Regions from separate parts of the Homo sapiens genome. Here region 1 is linked to region 2. Evidence: promoter capture Hi-C in 16 types of primary human blood cells and fetal thymus (Javierre and others, 2016). All regions are on one chromosome and are shown on one strand. The core of a region is centred on a gene start or on the middle of the fragment in contact, and the rest is flanking DNA. Distances in the headings are between cores, read along the strand shown. Region 1 overlaps MINDY3 (MINDY lysine 48 deubiquitinase 3). Region 2 holds the start of TRDMT1 (tRNA aspartic acid methyltransferase 1).

The links. Contacts are between HindIII fragments. The CHiCAGO score rates a contact against its expected background, and 5 or more counts as called.
Region 1: a contact is called between a fragment that was not itself captured here and the fragment with the promoter of TRDMT1 in region 2, in 2 of 17 cell types (total B cells and naive CD8 T cells). The highest score is 5.3, in total B cells.

Annotation. Positions count from the first base shown.
Region 1 is chr10:15,838,744-15,842,522 of GRCh38, forward strand. MINDY3 (MINDY lysine 48 deubiquitinase 3) reads right to left here. Exons shown (of 15, transcript NM_024948.4): 4 at 2,683-2,856. All of the region lies in intron 2 of LOC124902383 (a long non-coding RNA gene), which reads left to right. Among named protein-coding and RNA genes, the nearest start is that of MINDY3, 20 kb to the right of the region's middle. The HindIII fragment of the contact is 1,691 bases long and covers 868-2,558 here.
Region 2 is chr10:17,199,910-17,203,433 of GRCh38, forward strand. TRDMT1 (tRNA aspartic acid methyltransferase 1) reads right to left here and starts at 1,763. Exons shown (of 11, transcript NM_004412.7): 1 at 1,662-1,763. The coding sequence starts at 1,725. RefSeq lists a silencer at 1,401-1,460. The HindIII fragment of the contact is 5,194 bases long and covers 1,152-3,524 here.

The sequences.
Region 1 (3,779 bases), core at 463-2,962, 1.4 Mb before region 2:
TTCAATGACAGCTTTAAGTTTGTTTCCTCATTTATTTGTATAACTGTTAAAAAGTTTTCAGTAACTTATTTAGATTATGTTTATTAATCAAAGGAAATAGAAGAAAGCATTTTAATCAGAGGTAATGTTTATTGAGCACTTTACTAAGTGCCAGGCCCTTTTCTAAATGCCCTACATGTCTTACCTCATTTAATCCTCATATAAACCCTCTTAGCTCCATTTTACAGAAGAGGAACCTGAGGCACACAGAAAAATCCTCTCAAGAGTACATAGGATTAAACAGCAGAGATGAGACTTGAGCACAGATAGTCTTGGCTCCAGGGAGTTATTTATCACAATGAATAACTTCACATATATTTCATAAAGCAAATCTTACTACTATCAAATATAAATTCTCACTGGTGAGTTAAGAAAATTGATTCATTATGAAGTCAAAATTTTAGATTTTTATTTACAATTTAAAATGTCACATTATGCTAGCTTTCCAAAGCCTAGTTGTGAGTGTTTCATATTTCGTTTTAAAATCTTTAGCAGTCCAAATGTATTAAGTTATTTCTTGGTTTATGTGGGAAACAAACTGAAATTGAACCTGAGTATTCACTACTGCGAACAACTGTGCATTACCAACAAGCCAAAACTATACACACCACATAAGCCAATGAAATTAATGTTTGTAGAGAAAGTAATATTAACAAGAGGGGAAAACACTTTACATTAAAACTTTCAGAAAATGAAAATTCTACCTAATCTTTTCCAAATTATACTGCTTGTTCTGCAACATTAGATTATCTAAATAGTTTTACTGGGTATACTACAAGAGTAGACATAAAGATAATAATTTAGAGAAAAGAGGCAAGCAAAATAAAAAGCTTAGCAGGCAGGGATGGTGAAAAAATATAAAACACAAGAAAAAGAACAAAGCTGGGAATAAAGGAAAGAACAGGTAAAATAGATTGTTACACGGAATAAAAATTGTAATATAAATACAGTTCATTTGTCACTAAGGTAAATTCTCAAATTTTCAGTTAACAAAGTATTTCAAATGTATACATTATTTAAAAAATTTAAAATATGGTTTACTTCATGGCAACTTTTAAAATGAGATACAAAGTAAACTGGAAAAATTACTAAAATGTTTTCTGGAGGGTAATTCAATATAATATGCCCATCTAAATTAGTTACTGAAGTACCAAAGGGAATGCATTATAAGGCCCTTTAACCTATAGCAACGTGACGTATCACCACAGAACTGCATAGCATATTTCATAGTATGCACTCAGTATACTGTTAAGATACTAATGGAAAATGTTATATAAAAAGATCTTACTATTTTCTCACATCAATATACAGACTGGCTTTAAGCACAAAATCTTTAAAATACCTTTTCAAAAGATCAACAATTCCTCTTTCAAAATTTTAATATCCTAAATGAACCTATTAAGTGTGCTAACACCCACACAGTAAAACCTGGAGAATATGTTAAAACCAATCTTAGTGACACTTTGGACTAGCATCCTTGTGACTGTTTTCCACTTGTTGTCTTCAAATGTCATTATAAACTCTAAAATATGTTAAGTTCTTTTTGAAAGGCCATATTTCAAAGGCTTCAAAAGGAAGCATCATATAGCTGTTCAAATGTTCAAAATTATTCCTTGCAAATGTTACTACTATTAGAATTTGCCAGGCTTAAGGCATTTTAACTGCAGAGGTAGGAGAAAAAAGACACTGACAACACAGAGGCATTTTAGTCCAGGGAGGCAACAGCACCTTATAGATAATACTATATGGAAAGCAAAATGTGTATCCCATACAATTGAAGTGTACTTTCAGGTACGTAATCTCTTTACGAAAACTTTCCACAAAGATGATAGTTAATGTGATGCTCTGTGGGTAGAATAAGTCACTTATTTAACATAAGCACTTGGGACTACCAATTATAAAAAACCATCAACTAGCAAGATTATTCCTGAAAAGCAAATCAGAAAAGCAACTCTTAACTAGCTTCCGTACCACTAGCTGTCTCCATTTCACACTGGCAGCTTTCGGGTCAATTACATAACAATTTTCAAAAGTTAAAAACCACAGAATATATAATTTTTATGAATAATGAGAATAGCTATTATTTAACGTAAACAGCTATTATTTAACTTATCTTCAAGGTATGAAAAACTTAAGGCATAATTAAAATTGCCTTAAAATAATCTATATGTATAAAAATATCCAAATAATTCGGAAAGAAAAGAAACAGCTTGCAATGAGGAGAAATGTCCCCATCTTTGCTCTGGGAAGCAAGTAAAGATAACTTTATGAAATCTTCTGATGTCCAAAAAAATCCGTTTTTGCAATACCAAAGCAAAACATTAAGGCATCTGAAACTGAAGCATATCATTATTTCTAAATAAGAGTTCTAAAGCTCAAAAGAGATTATTATCAAGCAGAAGTTAACCAGAACATTTTTAAAAGTTTAAGAGATGCATTTTTTTTTGCAAAAATGTAGTATCTTCTAAGTAGTTAAAATAAATGATATGGAAATAAAAAATAGTGAGGCTCAGTAATTAAGCTTAAGCTGGAAAAGAATACATGTTATGAAAATTTTAAGTAATTTTTTCTTCAAAATATTCAATAGATTCATTAAAACAAAGGAACAAGAAAAAAACTTCAGGAAATAAAAATATATCTTACAAGAATGTTCCACTTGGCAACTAGACTCTGCAGGACTCCCAGAAATACTAGCAGTTTCCTCAGTTGTCTTTCCTCTTAACCATGAAACCAAGCAGTATGATCCAGAGTGGTCACAACAAGCACTTTCTAAAATATCACACAAGGTATGACAAAGGAGTTCCTTCTGCTCTTCCTCTAAAAATAACCAAAGCATAAGTTATAATGGTTTCCTCTGGAAAAAAAAAAATTCTGTCATGAATAACAATAGTAAGAATGGGTTAATGATGAAAATCAAGCATTTTAAAAATGGGGGAAAAATCTCTAAATAGATTTTAAATTATGTCTTAGAAAAACAATGTGTTTGTGGATTAAAATATCACCACTTTAAATAAAGCCATCCAAATAACACCACCAAGTAGAAAAAGAATACTGAAAAATGCAGAACTAAACATTATGAAAGATCATAATGTGACACTGATCATCACTTTCTTAAAACTTTAGCAACTGCAGCATTTAAGCCAAGAGGTTTCCTCTACTGAAGAACTGAGCACAATGTAAAGGCCTGTTGAAACCTCTATTTTTTTTCCCTCACATCTGAATTAATCTAACGTCTATGATCACCCCGTCCCAAAGGGATAAGAATAATGAGATGAGAGACCGTCAGCACATATGTTACCAAAGTCCATTACATCAGCAGAAGCCAGTGGTTAGAATACAGATTTGAGCATTAGAATTTTATAGAAAATGGCGCAAATGCTCAGACCATCTCTTTATGAACCTTAGCCACACTCTTTTCAAGCAGTATTACTCTCAAGAAGTAGTATTACTTTCTGAAACTTTCAAAAATTTTATGATACAAGGAGGTTTCTGTCTCTCCTAATGGATTAACAGTTCTTTAACTGCAGGAACTATGCTGTTCACTTTCTAATCACCACAGTATTTATGACACTTATGACAATGCTTTACAAATGTTTTATCAAAGTGAATATAGTGAATATAGTATAAGAAATAGTATAAATTTTATTAAAAGTTCATTTCAAAAATAGTATCTCAAATAGTTTCTTCTCTACTAAAATTTGTTTTGTATTTCACCTATTAATTTAAAACTTATGGAAGTG
Region 2 (3,524 bases), core at 513-3,012:
CATTAATCCCAAAACTGTCACTTAAAATTACACAATTTCCCCTAACAAATTAGCAAGGATTAAAAATTGATAATACATATCCCTGATGAATATGTAGTTAAGGCACTCAAAAATCTCTGAAAAGCAATTTGCTATCCTCTCTCTCAAAAGCCTTAAAAATTCTGTTTTTCACTTAGTAACTAGCACACAGTTAAGTCTTACTGTTGAATTAATTCCAACAGTTAGTAAACATGCTTAAAGAGAAAATCGGCATTATGCTCAAGAATGTAACTGTAGCACACTGTACTTGCAAAAAAACTGAAGAATGATCTAAATATTCGACACTTAAGGAATGGCTGAATTACAGCTTATGATAAAGTACTAAGCAATTCATTAAGGAGTTTCAAGATATGGGAAAACGCGGACATTATATCACTTTAGAGAATTAACAAAGAGTAAATAGTACTAGAGTTTTGCTTTGATGCTGCTAAGTTTTAAAATGAGAAATAAAGATAGCCGGCAAACAAGTACTAAAAACTTAATGATCATTAACCTAGTCTAGAATTGAAACTCAATAAATCTGCTCAAAAAACTTATACGCTAAACCCATTAAATATTGTCTGTATCTTACAGTTACTCTTGTTACTCTTGGTCCTAAATAAGGAAGCAGGGAAGTTTCAGTTCGGTGGTTGTCTTAGTAATTTAAGAATAAACATGCACCTTCAAAGCCTGTTTGTCATTCTGTATCCCCAGCTCCTAGCACAAAATCTGGCACAGAATAGGAGCTCAATAAATAATTTTGAGTGAATATCACCAAAAGTAAAACTTTCAGTTCCAACTCAGCATGAAAGAAATCAAAAACCTCAAAATCAAAGACGTGCATAAAAGTAATAGTTTGCTTGATAATATCTCGTGATGTCGTTTTAAAGTAATAGTGATAATAATGTATAATATTTGGAGTGGTTACAATGTATCAGGCACTAACAAGCACTTGACAGACTTTAATCCTTATAATAATCATTCTCTTTTAAAACCAGGAAACAGGTTCATCACTGTTCACGAAGTAGCCCAACGTCACACTGCCACCAAGCTGGAACTCAGTTCTCTGGCATCTAAACGCAGAACTACAGAAGACACGTTTCTTTCCAACGATCAGACGTCCAAGTTCTTCAAGCTTCCTCTACCATCCTATTTAGCATTCGCAAACTTCTACCTTGAATTGTAGCTATTATCCCTTCCAAGATCCATCTCTCACCAGGGGAGCCCCTGACACTCCCTCCCTCCCCAGCTGGGAAGCCCCCCAGGATGAAGGACCGAGTCTCCATGCTTCTCGGTGGCTGCACACTTAGAATGGGGGCTTGGCACCAGGCGAGGGTCTCGCCCCTTTGATACCCTTTGAGGTTGATTTACTGCCTTGCGAATCCCGACTCCCAACTGGGCCCTTTGAGGCGCCATGTGCGGCCCCTCGAGCCAGACTCGGCGCCAGGAGAAGGGAGTCAGCGTCTGGAGGGGTGGACACGGCGGCGCGCAGGAGCTGTTTCCAGGACAACCGAGGGCCGCCCCACAGTGTCCGCCCCACAGTGTCCGCCCCTTGCGTCTCGCCGCTCCGCCCCTTCCCGGCGCGGGTGCTCCAACCAGCCCCCGTGAGCGAATAGAGAGAGGGGTGCTAGATGGACTCTCACCTCTCAGCGCGTGGTGCATGCCGCCCACGCCGCTGTATAGCTCCAGCACCCGCAGGGGCTCCATCCCCGCGCCTCAGCCGCCGCAGCCCCGGAGCTAGGCCTGCCGGTCCGTCGCTCCTCCTCCCTCCATCGCGCCGCTCCCTCAGCCTCTGGTTCCGCGGCGTTTCAGTTCCCCCGTCTCCTACCGCTCCAGGCTCAGGGCTTCAGAGGGCCTCGCGGCCTGGGGATTGGCAAGGGTCTAGAGGGGAACAAAGGACGGAAAACAATAAGGCTTCCCGAATGAATGGCAGCCACTCTGTAGCCTGATTTACGCTCCATTTCCTTCTTTGGTGTCAGGGGCCTTGATTGGAAAAGAAATCCAGAGTTCAGTAAAGGGGAGAAAACTGCCTTGGTTTCCAAGTGAATTAACACTGGTTAGAAGCCAGAAAAAAATCATTTTTCAGACAAGCTGCTTTTCTGTCACTTAGAAGCCTGAACATTCAAACATTCTTTCCACAGTGTGCCTTGTTTCCTGCCTGCCCTGGGTCAATAGAGAGAAATTAGACCAGCCTCTCCCCTAGAGAAGATTCCAGAATTATAAGTAAGGACACAAGTCCACTCGCAGCAGAGAAAGCCCTGTGTGCGTGCTGATAATACAGAGGATGTTTGTTGTGTCTATTAGTGGGGTTAATTATGTTTTAGCTTGGAAATTACACCTACATAGAATACACAGTGAATATCATGTAGGATTATTTATGGGTCTTTAAGTGCTATGGCCTTGATTCCTCAGGATGATCCAGTAACCAACTGTTAGAGGCTCATGTTGACGAAAAAAGCCAAACTCCGTAAAATGTTTGAAGAGGTTTATTCTGAGCACAAGGTGAGGACCGTGACCCATGACACAACCCCACAGGGTCCTGACAACATGTACCCAAGGTGGTTGGGCTACAGCTTGGGATTATATGGTTTTAGGGAGACATAAGGACATTAACTGGTATATGGAAGGTGTACTTAGTTTGGTCCATAAAGATGGGACAACTCAAAAAGGGGAAGGATTCCAGGTTACAGGTGGATTCAAAGATTTTCTGATTGGCAGTTGGTTGAAAGAGTTAAGTTGTGACCTAAAGACCTGGAATCAATAGAAAGGAATGTGTCTGGGTTAAGATAAGGTGGAGACCAAGGTTCTTATTATGTAGACGAAGTCTCATACGTAACAGGCTTCAGAGAGAATAATTGGCAAATGTCTCTTATCATGTGTAAAAAGATGCCAGACTCTTAGTTAAATATCTCTTGGATCAGGAAAAGACCTGGAAAGGGAAAGGGAGTCTCTATAGAATGTAGATTTTCCCCACAAGAGATGGCTGTGTAGGGCCATTTCAAAAAGTGTCAAAGAAATTTATTTTAGGGTAAAATGCTTTGATTTAGGGCCTGCTATCTTTCATGTGATGCTATACTAGAGTCATGTTGGAATTTTGGTATCTTATTGCTAAGAAGAGTCTGTTATGTCGGTATGAAGATCTCTTGTTTTAATAATAATACTGGTCAGTTGTGCCTGAACTCCAAAGAGAGGAAAGTATAATGAGGCATGTCTGACTTCCCTTTCCCAGCATGGCCTGAACTAGTTTTTCAAGTTTCTTTGGAATCCGCTTGGTGGAGGTGTTCAATCAGTCAGTTGGGGGGAGCTTAGAAATTTTGTGGGGGGAGCGGTGTTTACAGTCAATTATAAATAAAAATAATGTACCCATATGGAGGATAGAAAATGTTCCCGTTGTGAAGTGTTTTTCTCTTTGTTCCCAACACTGCCACAGGTTTTTGTTAGGGGGAACTTGGGGGTACCACTTGTAATAACAATAACTGATTTGTTAGAAATGTTGCATGCCTGCT